Linked DNA regions of Homo sapiens: region 2 is linked to region 1. Evidence: promoter capture Hi-C in human tissues and cell types (Jung and others, 2019). All regions are on one chromosome and are shown on one strand. The core of a region is centred on a gene start or on the middle of the fragment in contact, and the rest is flanking DNA. Distances in the headings are between cores, read along the strand shown. Region 1 holds the start of IL17D (interleukin 17D). Region 2 overlaps XPO4 (exportin 4).

The links. The method cuts DNA at HindIII sites, captures the fragments that hold promoters and counts their contacts. A contact is called where the count stands out against the background at its distance.
Region 2: a contact is called between a fragment that was not itself captured here and the fragment with the promoter of IL17D in region 1, in 5 of the 25 tissues and cell types used here (dorsolateral prefrontal cortex, heart left ventricle, hippocampus and 2 more).

What each region holds. Positions count from the first base shown.
Region 1 is chr13:20,702,151-20,708,836 of GRCh38, reverse strand. IL17D (interleukin 17D) reads right to left here and starts at 5,138. Exons shown (of 2, transcript NM_001385224.1): 1 at 4,546-5,138. The coding sequence starts at 4,835. RefSeq lists silencers at 4,317-4,826, 5,117-5,256, 5,677-5,756. The HindIII fragment of the contact is 9,244 bases long and covers 2,699-6,686 here.
Region 2 is chr13:20,816,238-20,822,371 of GRCh38, reverse strand. XPO4 (exportin 4) reads left to right here. Exons shown (of 23, transcript NM_022459.5): 8 at 83-240; 9 at 494-668. Among named protein-coding and RNA genes, the nearest start is that of EEF1AKMT1, 45 kb to the right of the region's middle. The HindIII fragment of the contact is 5,973 bases long and covers 1,088-6,134 here.

The sequences.
Region 1 (6,686 bases), core at 3,889-6,388:
TAGTAGAGATGGGGTTTCACCATGTTAGCCAGGATGGTCTCGATCTCCTGACCTCATGATCCTCCTGCCTCGGCCTCCCAAAGTGCTGGGATTACAGGCGTGAGCCACCGCACCCGGCCGTCACTGGTCCTTTTCTTACTGATTTGTGGGAGCTCTTTAGGAATGAGCTCTTTGTGACTTGGGTTGCAAACATTTTTTCCCAGTTTGCCCTTGTATTTTTCTTATTTTACTTTACCAAGAAGAAATGGTGTGTAATTATGTAACTTCATTTCTCAATCTTGTCTTCTGTGACTTTTGGGGACTGTGAGCAGCTAAATAGGGCCTCCTCCACTCCAAGATTATAAATATAATTGCTTGTGTTTTTCTCTGCTTTTGTGGTTTTTTTACATTTAAATGTTTGATTCATCTGGAATTCATTTTCACAGAGGAGTGAGGCCCAGGCTGTCCCAACACCATTTACTGAATGACCCAGGTCTCCATTCCATCCGTATGGAAAGCCACCTTCCAAATGCCTATTGTAAAACTTATCCACCTAAAGTGATCCTTGCTGTGCCCATCAGTACTCCTGACGTTCAGTCCATCTCCCTATCTGTCTTTCTCAGCATTCTCTCTGACTGCTGTGCCTTTAGGGCGTGGTGGCTTGGGCCTGTAATCCCAGCACTTTAGGAAGCCAAGGCAGGCAGATCACTTGAGGCCAGGAGTTCGAGACCAGCCTGGCCAACATGGCGAAACCCTGTCTCTACTAAAAATACAAAAATTAGCTGGGCGTGGTGGCATGCACCTGTAATCCCAGCTACTCCAGAAGCTGAGACAGGAGAATTGCTTGAACCCAGGAGATGGAGGTTGTAGTCTGCCAAGATCATGCCACTGCATTCCAGCCTGGGTGACAGAGCAAAACCCTGTCTCAAAAGAAAGAAAGAAAGAAATACCACCTGACCCTGTGCCCAGCCTGCAGGTGGGCACTCCTCTACCCAGGCCCCACCCTCAGACACTCCACCAAGGAACAAGCCCTGGCCTGGCACCATGGCTTACGCCTGTAATCCCAGCACTATGAGAGGCTGAGACAGGAGGGTCACTGGAGCCCAGGACTTCAAGACGAACCTGGGCAACAAAGTGAGGCCCCCATCTCTAAAAAACAAAACAAAAAAACTAGCTGCATGTGGTGGTGCGCACCTGTGGTCTCAGCTACATGGGAGGCTGAGGTAGGAGGATCCCTTGAGCCTAGAAGGTCAAGGCTGCATTGATCTGTCTGTGTCACTGCACTCCAGGCTGGGTGGCAGAGCGAGATTCTGTCTAAAAGAAAAAACCTGTCCTTCCACAACATCTTTTAGTAGAGGCTCCACACTTCCATTGGCTCACTATTTCTTTTCCTTTTTTTTTTTTTTTTTTTTTTTTTGAGACAAGTTCTCACTCTGTTGCCCAGGCCGGAGTGCAGAGGCACAATCATAGTTCACTACAGCCTCAGCCTCCCTGGCTCAAACTTCCCAAGTAGCTGGGACCACAGGCAAACATGACCACACCTGGCTGTTTTTTTTGTAGTGATAAGTCTCATACTATGTTGCCCAGGCTGGTCTCAAACTCCTGGGCTCAAGTGATCCTCCCACCTCCGCCTCCTGAGTAGCCGGGGATTTACAGGTGAGCCACTGGGCCTGGCTGGGTCTCACTTTTTCTAATCTTCCCAATAACCCAAAAGATGGTGAGAGGTGATTGGAGGGAGGAGGGCAGAGAGGGCTCTCCTGGCAGGAAAATGCAGGAGCAGCTTTGGCAGTCAGCAATCTGGAGTCCCAGCCCAGCAGCCATCCCCTGAAGACTGTCCTTCCTTCAGCAAATATAAGCCACCCACCTCCGTTTGCCCATGGGGAGTGATCTCATCACTGTTGCTAAATAATATGAAAAATGATGCACATGACACCTTCAGCCACCCTGCTGCAGCTGCCACTCCTGCTCCTGGGACCACCCAGCACTGAGGTTCCACATGTGGGCAGATCTGGGTGGCCCAGACCACGATCCCCGAACCCTGTGTGTCATTCTCATCCATAACCTCCCTCGGCTCCCAGATCCTGCCTGGGGCGACATAGGTGTCATCTGTAGCAAGGGCAACTCAATTTAACTTCCCACACACAGAATGCCAGTGCTGCTAACTCTCCATGTGTCCTCCAGCCCTGCTCTGTCTCCTGAGCTCCAACCAGTCATTGTCACCTGTACGCCTTTCAGGCAGGCAAAACTCAACAGGCTTGTTACTAAATTCATTATTTCCTCCCACAACACTTGTTCCTAAGTGTATTTTCTCATTTTGCTCAAATACCATCAACAACCCAAGCCAGAAACATGAGAGACATGCCTTTGGGAGGCTATATACTACTCTTAGGCCCTTGGCCCAGCCTGTGGGGAGCCACGGGTTTGCCTGAGAGTTCGAATCTGCTATAGAAAGCAGGGCCAGCAGCTTCTGTCCAGAGAAGTTAATCTCTGGTTCTGAGAGATTCCTTATGTGGCTTTAATCCTATTTGGTATATCAGAAGCATAACACGAGGTTAGAGAAAGAAGAATGCCGTAGTCCATCCCTTCAGGTCCTGGAAATGGAGGAAGAGAGAGGAAAAGCAAGAGCACCAAGATACCAGAATGAATGGCGCCATGTGTGTGCCCTGCAGGCTCCAGCTGAAGGACAGGAGTGAGAAGGGCGGGAGGGGTCCCACCCAACTTCCCCGTGGGCAGGGGCTCTGAGGGGGCTCTGCCACAGTGAGCTTGGTCCTCTGCAGAGTAGCCAGGAGGCAGGAGGCCCTAAAACTTGGCTTCCCAGGACAGCATAGGGGTCCTGTGTGTTGTTGAGTAAAAGGAAATCTCCCTACCCAGCAGCCGGCAGGGAGAGGCTCCAGGAAAGCCCAGATGCGTTTTAGACAAAATCATCACATTTCCTCTGACTCTCCACAGCACTTGTCTTCTTTAATGAGCATCTTTCACGCTGATCCTAGTCTCCCCTTCCCACCGCGCTGCCTGAGTGAAGCCCTAGATCCTTTGGATGGAAGTGCTGGAGAGCATTGTCCAATCCATGCCCCATTGGGACACCCTCCTAAACCAGAGTGGCTGTATGGCTTCCTCCATCTCAAGTGTCAAGACTTTTTTTCTCTTTAATTTTTATTTTAGAGACGGGGTCTCGCTTTGTCACGCAGGTTGGAAGGCAGTGGCGCCACCACAGCTCACTGCAGCCTGAACCTCCCGGGCTCAATCTATCCTCCCACTTAAGCCTCTGGAGTAGCTGGGACCACAGGCACGTGCCACCACACTTCGCTAATCCTTAAAAATTGTTTGCAGAAATGGGATCTCGCTATGTTTCCCAGGCTGGTCTCGAACTCCTGGACTTAAATCCTCCTGCCTCGGCCTCCCAAAGTGCTGGGATTCCAGGCGTGAGGGTGAAGCTCTGCACTGCTGACAAGGCGGGGATCCAGCTCCTGCACCTGTCTCCAGCCTTACATCGATGCCCACCCCACAGGCAAACACCTCGCCTACGCCCCCCCACCCCCACCGCCCCCGCTCGCCTTGTGGCTCTCCCCATTTTCCAAGCGCTTTGTTCCCGCTTGCTATCAGCTGTCCCTTCCCTCAGCACTGCCTTTGTAGGCGACTTGCTCTCCTCCATCAAGACTCAGCTCTTTCACGAAGCCTTTCTTGACCTCTGTGGCCCTGGGAGGCCTTGCCCCCTAGGGCAGCTCCTCCTGCTCCAGCTAGAGGGAAGACGGTCACAGGTGCCTGCTGAGGACACTGCGGCACCCTGCCTACACGCCCCCAACTTCTCCAGCCTTCCCCTTCTGCAGGCTGTCCCTTTCTTCTGAAATGACCTCTGTTCCAAGACCAAAATACTCTCGAAACTGTTCATGTCACTTCATGCACTGCCTGATGGTGTGGTTTCTTTCCCAATTATCCCCACTCCTTCCTTAGGCTATTAAACTAGAGGGGCTCAGAGGGCGCTTCCCAGGGCTCCACTCCAGCAGCCTCTGGACCACAGGGGCACTCAGGAAATATGTGGATAGTACCGCGCACCCCCCAGCAGCACCTCCCCGGGCCCCCTGTGCAGAGTACGGTCCACATCACTGTGTCCACATCACGGAAGGGTCCCCAGCTAGTGCCTTGCGGACCCATCCAACCTGGAGGAGATGAGGTGTTCAAGAGATACGTGTTGCATAGGAAATACTGGAGGGTAAAGAGAGGAAGCAGGACTCCTTCAAGGGAGGTGGTGGGGGTGGGCCTTCGCAGTTTAGGAATTGCCCCCCAGTGCTCCAACTGCCCCGCCCCACCCCGCCTCATCGCAGCGCCCCTCGCACCCCACCCCACCCTACCGTACCCTACCCTGTCTCGCCCCGCACCACCCCACCCCTACCTGCTCCGCCTCGCCCCGCGTGCCACGCCCCCTCCGCGTCGCCCCGCCCCAACCACCTCCCCTTCCCCGCCCCACCCTCCCCGCCTGCCCGGCCTCGGCCCGGCCCCACCCACTCTCCCCGCCCAGCCCTGCCCTCCCCACCTGCCGGGCCCCGCCAGGACGCGCCCGCGGCTCACCTGTAGGCCCAGGGCGACACGCTGCGCAGGTTGGTGGGCGGCCGGAAGCGGCGGTCGGCGGGCCTGCCCCCTGCCGGGCAGCTCGCGTTGCGCGCCTGCTCACGCGGCCCCAGCTGCAGCGTGTGGTGGAAGGCACTGAGCACGCCGGCCGCCAGGCGCCCGTACAGCTGCTCCAGTAGCTCCTCCGGCCGGTCCGCGCAGCCCCGCGGCCGCGCGGGGCGCCTGCCCGCCCTCGGGGCGCCCGCGGCCCAGCTCGGCGGCAGCGCCAGCAGGAAGCCGGCTACCAGCATCCAGACCTGAGGGACAGGCCACGCTCAGCGTCCGCACGCGCCGGAGGAGCCCGCCTGCGCCCCGCGCCCGTGTCCCGCCCGCGGCGCCCGGAGCCGGCGGGCGCCTCCCCTCGCCCCGCGGAGCCAGAGGCCGGCCCGGAGGATGGGAGCCGCGCGGGCGGGCCCCAGAGCGCCCTCCCCGCCTGCCCGCCGCCCGCGGGGTCCCCGGGGCCCAGCCCGGCGCCGGCCCGCGCGCCCCCGGCCCCCGCCGCCGCCGCCGCCCCGAGCCGGGGGCCGCACGGGGGGCGGGTGCGGGGCGCGCGTGCACGTGTGCGTGTGCCTGCCGGGTTGCTGCGCCGCGGGCTGCGAGTGCTTGTGACCCGCCGCACCCTCACCCCCGGGCGCGCCATCCCTGCTCCGCCGCCAGCGAGGGAGCCCCGGAGCCTAAGACGCCCGGACCCGCCGCCTCGCAGACCCACCCTTGCCCCTGCGCCTCGTCATCCGCCCGCCCCAGCCAGCCCGCGCAGGGTCCGCGGCCCGCTTTTCCGCGAGAAGCCCCCTGTGGTCTTTCCTCGTACCCGGGGACTCGGACCGAGAAGCCGACTGAGCGAGGTCGCCGCCCGGCCTCACGGACACAGAGCGACTCTGCACCTTTCGCCTCCAGGAGCTGAAAACATTTTGTCACTTGTGCAGTGTACTCACCAGTGCCCCCAACATCTTCTCCCCCGAAAGCGCTTTCAGATTCGCGCCGAGATGGGGCGACGCGGCGGCTCTTGAGCGGAATAACCCGAAGGGCCACGCAAACTGGGGCTTCCAGCCGCGAGCATGCGGCGGGGCGCCCAGGGCCTGGGGTCGCGCGCTCAGGGCCTGTGCTGCGCCACGCAGGAGGAGGAGAGGGCTGGCCCTGCCGGGCGCGGGTGCGGGCCCGACTGGCTGAAGGAGGAGTGGGGACTGGCTTGGAAGTCTCCGAAGCAGAAAAGTGGGGCCGACAGGATGGAATTGGGGGAGGCCGATTTTGGCTCAGAGAGATTTCTCTATTAAGGAAAGCAGTCCAAGAATAGGCCCCCTGGAAGAGGAATGCGCTCAAACCCAGAGGGATTCTCCTTAGAGCTACCTCTTGAGATTCTGTACTTCGAGGAAATTAGAGGTTTTTTTAAATCTCTATTTTTAATAAGGTGGGAGGAGGCTGTTGCTCCTTTCTCCTCAACAACATGAAATGATCCTGTGCCTCTATCCAACAACTCTACAACAAAGCACTGAATACTTCCCTGACTGGCACTTTCATGGCTGTTCATGGGCATCTCTTGGTCTATGACGACGATGTTGGAGAGTTCCTACTCCGTGATAACTCAGTTCTAAGTGCAAGCAGTCACGTGAAATGAGCCTGATAGTCTGCGAATGAAGAAACTAAAACGAACTATATTATATACTTCATAACACAAGACAACGTGCTCGTTTGTTCATTCTGCAAGTAAATGCTTAATGCTTCCTAGGTGGCAGGCTAAAGAATATGATCATTTTAAAGCAGTCATGCTTTGAAAATAAACAACCCATCCCAGCTGTAAGCTTTTTGAAAGTGTACAAAATATGTAATTGATGACTCCCTAAATGGTTTGCAGCTTTGGTATTTGACTGAATTGTAAACCATTAGTTAAACTACATTTCAGTTATGCTTTGTAGGAAAAACACTTTCCTATGCATTGAATGTTCTATAACTAAGGAGCTTAGTAATCTACTGCTAAAAATCTCACTGAAATCTCCAGTTTAAGCGATTTAAGCAATTTACAGCTCTTGGCAAATATTTGTTTTGGGTTATAAAACACTTTTTTTCTGACTAGTAAATTGTTCATGTTCTTTGTTTCCAGTAAAATG
Region 2 (6,134 bases), core at 2,825-5,324, 110 kb before region 1:
TCTTACCTCATTCGGCATGGTAGACACGTGACCCTTACAAAGGAAGAATTTATATTTATGGATTAGTAATTCTTTCTAACAGGTACATCGAAAAATCAGAGAAGATTCAGATATGGCACAAGATTCTCTGCAGTGCCTTGCCCAGTTAGCTTCTCTTCATGGACCCATCTTCCCAGATGAAGGATCACAAGTTGATTATCTAGCACACTTCATTGAGGGATTACTGAATACTATCAATGGGTAGGTATACTTGCCCTTTGCAGCTGAAAAAGGAGCTCTACGTTTTGTGTTTAACAGTAGAAGAAAAAAAGAAACTAGTTATTTTTTCCCCCTTATATTTTGAAGTAAAGTCATATGGGTAATTTGAAATTAATAAACAGAGACATACCTTTTAAAATGAATCAGTAACGATATTTGCTTGTTTGGAAATGAGTTATTATATTAATAATTTTTCTTTTACTGCCACTTAATAATACTCATTCCTTGGTTTTAGAATTGAAATAGAAGATTCTGAAGCTGTGGGGATCTCCAGCATTATCAGCAACCTGATAACCGTGTTCCCACGAAATGTTTTAACTGCCATTCCAAGTGAACTTTTCTCCTCCTTTGTTAACTGCCTCACACACCTCACTTGTTCTTTTGGGCGAAGTGCTGCATTGGAAGAAGTGGTGAGTGACTATTCTAAAGTAAATTGTGTCAGTTTTCACAAGGAAATTTGCGGTGCCTTTGGAACATTTCTCATGACAAGTAATTATTTTAAGTGAGTGCTGGCTATTGTTAAAGTGACTGTTTTGTTTAGATGTGCAAATTATTTGGGAAACATGACCTTTAAAAATTTGTGGATTAAAATAGCTTTAGTTGGTGATATTTACTGGTCTTAAGCATTTAATTTTGAGATAATTTAGTACCCAAATATAAGAGATGGAATGAAATGAGCTGTGGTTTGTTCAACACAATTTTTCATGTAAAAATTATGTCGAAGGCTCTTTCTAACAGCAAAAACATTGTTTACAGGGTGTTGCTGTGGTGTGGTGTAATTACGTGTAATTTTTTTTTTTTTTGAGAATTTTTTACGTTGGACTTATTTGGCAATTATGTAAACATAATTTGGTTCAAATCATTGAAACCTTGCTTATTTTGGTTAGACTGTGCTCTCTAATTTTTTGGATGATAATGCTTTAATAGTGTATCCTGGTAGAATTTAATTTACATTGAAATTAAGACCAATAACAATACTGAAGATGTTTTTTGGTACAAATTTCCAAATGTGTATTTTCCATATTTTATATTTAAATTTAGACGTCTACTAAAACCCCTTGAGGACACAGCTGCTTTTGTAACAGTTACTCTGAATAGCTGTATTAATCATGGAAAAAAATTGATTTCATTCCACAAAGTAGTGATTAAATTGTTGAAACTAATTTTTCTTTTTATGAGTCAAAATGTGAATCTTTCTGAAAGGCTGTAAGAGGAAAAAGAATGTAGATATTTTGTTAGAATTTCATGTTAAATTGTAAGTTGTGTTGGTTAGATTCTGCCAACGTGTATGTGAGTTTTTTCGTATCCCTTCAGAGGTGTTCAGAGAATAGAGAACTCGAGAATGATTATGTTTATGTAATCGGGCACTTTCATGATTTGATGAGGAAAGGAACCAGGTCAGACAAGTGTTTATACGGTAGAGAAAATGTAGTAACAGAAAAATAGAAGTTTAAAGGCATGATATGTACAGTTGAATGTTTCAGAGGGATACTTTACATTCTAAACATAAAAATCCAGGGTAATTTTAAGTATTTAACATTTTAAGTATTTACAGTTTACTCAAACCTCTTTCAAATGATCACAGATTCTGAACTAGTCAGGTTTTATTTAACATGAATTCCTTGCACTTTCCCTCTCCACCTTGGTTTATTTTCTCTTCTAAACCAGGTGGATTAAAGAGCATGTTGATCCTATATTTAGAAACTAAGCTCCTTTTAGTTCTGTTTGTGAGTTAAGCGTGTTCCTAAACGTTTTAAAGAATTGCTGGAAGATATATGGCATCCTTGGTTTGCAAATTTTAAGTGCAGAATTTATTTGAGGACACTGACATCTTGACAATTTTTCCTTCAAGATTTGACATAGGAGTGTTGGAATATAGAAAGCCTGCATGCATTTGCAGAGAAGCAGATGTGTGTTGTGCTTATTTCACAGCAGGCGTGCTCTAGTGAAGATGAACCTAACAGGTTTCATTCAAGAAAAGTATTATTTCTTTTCATTTATTTTACTCTTTTAATTAATTTTTAATTGAGCTGTTTATGATATTTAAAAATTATTTTTTAAAATAATTGGTCACCTATTGAAAAGGACAGAGGGAAAAGATCTGTTTAAAGTTTTGCATTAGTCGTAGAAACCAGGTTGGGGATGTGTGGTGAAGTTGAGGGCTAATGGGGTGGCCCAGGCATGGTGACTTTCTTAAGAGTAAACCTCCTAAATGTCATCTCAACCTCAAGCGGTTTCCGTTGTATCTTCTGTATGCTGGGAGTAGAGGACCAGGGGAGTATACAGCTAATACCAGAAATATAGGAACAAATCCAGCCAAACCAAATTGGACCTCTGGGACAGAAACCATTTCATCTTTTGTTTTCTTGGGCACCCAGTAATTGTAGTAATAGTACATAATACGTAGTTGTCCTGAGATGGAAAAGTATATAAAGACATGATCTTTTTTTTTTTGAGATGGAGTCTCGCTCTGTCGCCCAGGCTGGACTGCGATGGCACGGTCTTGGCTCACTGCAACCTCTGCCTCACAGGTTCAAGCGATTCTTCTGCATCAGCCTCCCGAGTAGCTGGGATTACAGGCATGCGCCATCACGCCCGGCTAATTTTTGTATTTTTAGTAGAGACGGGGTTTCACCATGTTGGCCAGGCTGGTCTCAAACTCCTGACCTCGCAGTCCACCCACCCCAGCCTCCCAAAGTGCTAGGATTACAGGTGTGAGCCACCGCGCCTGGCCAAGACATGATCTTTTAAGTAAAATTTGAAAAATTGAGGCATATTAAAGATATGAGTTTGGGAGTTAACATGGGATGAAAAGATGATGAACTTTTGAGGGAGACTGCACAGTTACAGGCCAGGCAGTCATGAAGAGCAAGAGTTCAAGCAAGCTGCTTCACTTTTTTTTGGAGCATGTTAGCTTATTGGTAAAGTCAGGGTATGAATTCCTTCTACTGCTTTATGACGTGGATTAACTGCATGAAAAGTACCTGTATAGGCCGGGCTCAGTGGCTCACGCCTGTAATCCCAGTACTTTGGGAGACTGAGGCAGGCGGATTGCCTGAGGTCAGGAGTTCGAGACCAGCCTGCCAAACATGGCAAAACCCCTTCTCTACTTAAAAATATAAAAAATTAGCCGGGCATGGTGGCGGGCGCCTGTAATCCCAGCTACTTGGGAGGCTGAAGCAGGAGGATCTCTTGAACCCGAGAGGCGGAGGTTGCAGTGACCCAAGATCACACCACTGCACTCCAGCCTGGGTGACAAGAACGAAACTCCATCTCAACAAAAAAACAAAGGGGAGGGGGAGGGGGACGTGTATAGTGTACAATAATTTATTACAAGCAATAACATGTAGAATAATTTTTTAAAATGAGCCTTTAAAATAATAGCTTTTATTGAAAACCTGTGTGCACTCTTACCACATAAGAACAACTGTTGAGTTTTGTTTGGTGCAAACTAATTATAATTCTAATTTTTTAAAATTATTTTTTAAATGATTTTTATAATTGTAATTTTGTGAAATATTGAAAGCTTCTTTTTCCAGTAGGAAAACAGGTTCCACATGTAAGACTTTGTTTTACTGTGAGAATACTTTTTTCAGAGCTGTGTTTGTTTAGGAATATATACAGATTATCATCTTTTTTAATAGCAATTCATGTCTTTGATGGTGGTAACGTTGTGTAGCAAGGGAAGAAGAGCATCTTCATAGGAAGAAGCATTCTTGATACCAGTGTGTGTTTTTGAAACCCATGTCATAAAGCCACCTTGCTGGGTGGCTTTAGCATGTGAGTGAAGAGACATATTTATGAGTACTCTGACTTGCAGTTAACTGAGAGTCTGTGTTCACAAAGAGCAATTCTGGTATTCAGCCAAGTTTCTCTGTGGCTGCAGAAGTTTCTTGATATTATTTGAGACTTTTTGGAGATAAGAATTTTTTCATTATACCCAGAAATCAAATTATTATCTATTGCTGAACTGAAGAGGTAAGAATGAATGTGGAGATGAAAAAGTATTGCCTTAAAGATTAAAATCCTGCTGGGCTTGGTGGCTCACGGCCGTACCTTGGGAAGCTGAGGTAGGCAGATCACCTGAGGTCGGGTGAGGAGACCAGCCTGGCCAACACATCGAAGCTCCGTCTCTACTAAAAATACAAAAATTAGCCAGGCATGGTGGCACACTCCTGTAATCCCAGCTACTGAGGAGGCTGAGACAGGAGAATTACTTGAACCCGGGAGGCAGAGGTTGCAGTGAGCTGAGATCATGCCACTGCACTCCAGCCTGGGTAATACAGCAAGGCTTTGTCTCAAAAAAAGATTAAAATTCTATCAATAATTGTTCATATTAATACAACAGCTGTTTTATAAAAGATTTATAATAGTAGATGCATTTGAATTGTTTCAGTGAAATTCAAGGAGAATATGACTAGAACTGTATACTCTAGTTTGTTTCTTGGTTTCTTTTATAATTAACCATTTTGAGTTCAGCCAAGTAGGTGAAGCTGTGCAGTATGTTGCTACAGGAACAGAGCAGCCTTCATAGCATTGAGGTATTTTGTATATGCATTTTGATGTATGTGTTGTGTATAAGGGCAATCGTGGTAAATAACAATTTATAAAGGAAGAACCTTACATCTAGTTTTAGTATATTTGTAGCCTAATCTCAAGACCAGCAGGACAAGGTAGTAAAGAAAAAGGTACTTGATAAAGTTTTTAGGAAGTTGATTATAGAATGTAATGCAATAAAATAAATTTGCAATTTGTCAAGTGAGTGAGTGTATTTAGAGGTCAGCATTCTTGATTCAGAATTTAATTTCTCTGGCTTGTTGGGTAATTACTTTGTAGTGAGGTTATGTGACAAAAAGGAAGCCATAAATTGAAGCCAAATTACAGATTGAGAAGTGGGGAGCATAAATTTTGGGATATCTCAGTGATAAGAGGGAAAACAATACTTATTCTCTGGATGGTTGTGTCCGTACAGTGTAACTGTGTAGTCTACCTTGCACCTTCACCCATGAAAGGATGGATTGTTTGAAGATCCTTGCCAACATCCCCACCAAACGGTTCTTGTAGCTATAAAAGAATAAACTGATGATACTGGAGAGAGCAAGCTGGCTGTCCAGCGCCCCCCACCCATCAAGCACATTCATTTCCTCTGCTTAAAAGATAGAATTAAATCCATGAGTATTTTTTAAAGCTTGCACATTAAAAGTATACTTTTTAGAAATAATAACAATAGTTTTAGCTCTACCAGGATATTTGGAAGAAAACTAGTTACTATTTTACCTTAAATACAGATTCGTATTAAAAGAAGTGTTTTAAGAATTGTTTTAATGTTTTAATTCTAATTGGATGATAACCATGTAATATTTCATGACTTGTATGAGTCAGCTCTGATTGTTTAAATCTGCTTTACCAATCCTAGTGCAGAACCAGTGTTAAGTTTCACAGAATTCTTGCACCTTTAGTGCAGTGGATTTAGAATAAAGCTTACTTACTGTTATAACTATTGTTCCATATCATATTTAAGTGATCTGTCTGTAAGATTTTTCTAACAGCTGCAATACTTGTCTACTAAATCCATTTCTCTTGGGGGATTCCAGAAACCAGGAATACTGTCAGCTGCATAGGTATTCTGAAGTTAAATTAATTCTGTATTTTAAGAACTAGCTAGAAAAAATAAAAATAACTAGACGTGGATTTATTTTTCATTTGACATTCAAAGACTTCTAAATTCCTACATTTTTAAGTGGAGAGTTCATGAAGTTTTTTTTGTGACATTTGTGTCACTATATTGTTCCCATATTTGCCTTAAATGATACTTCGCTAGGAAAGAATCTACATACCAATAGCAGATGAATAACAGCATAAACTAATAGTATAGC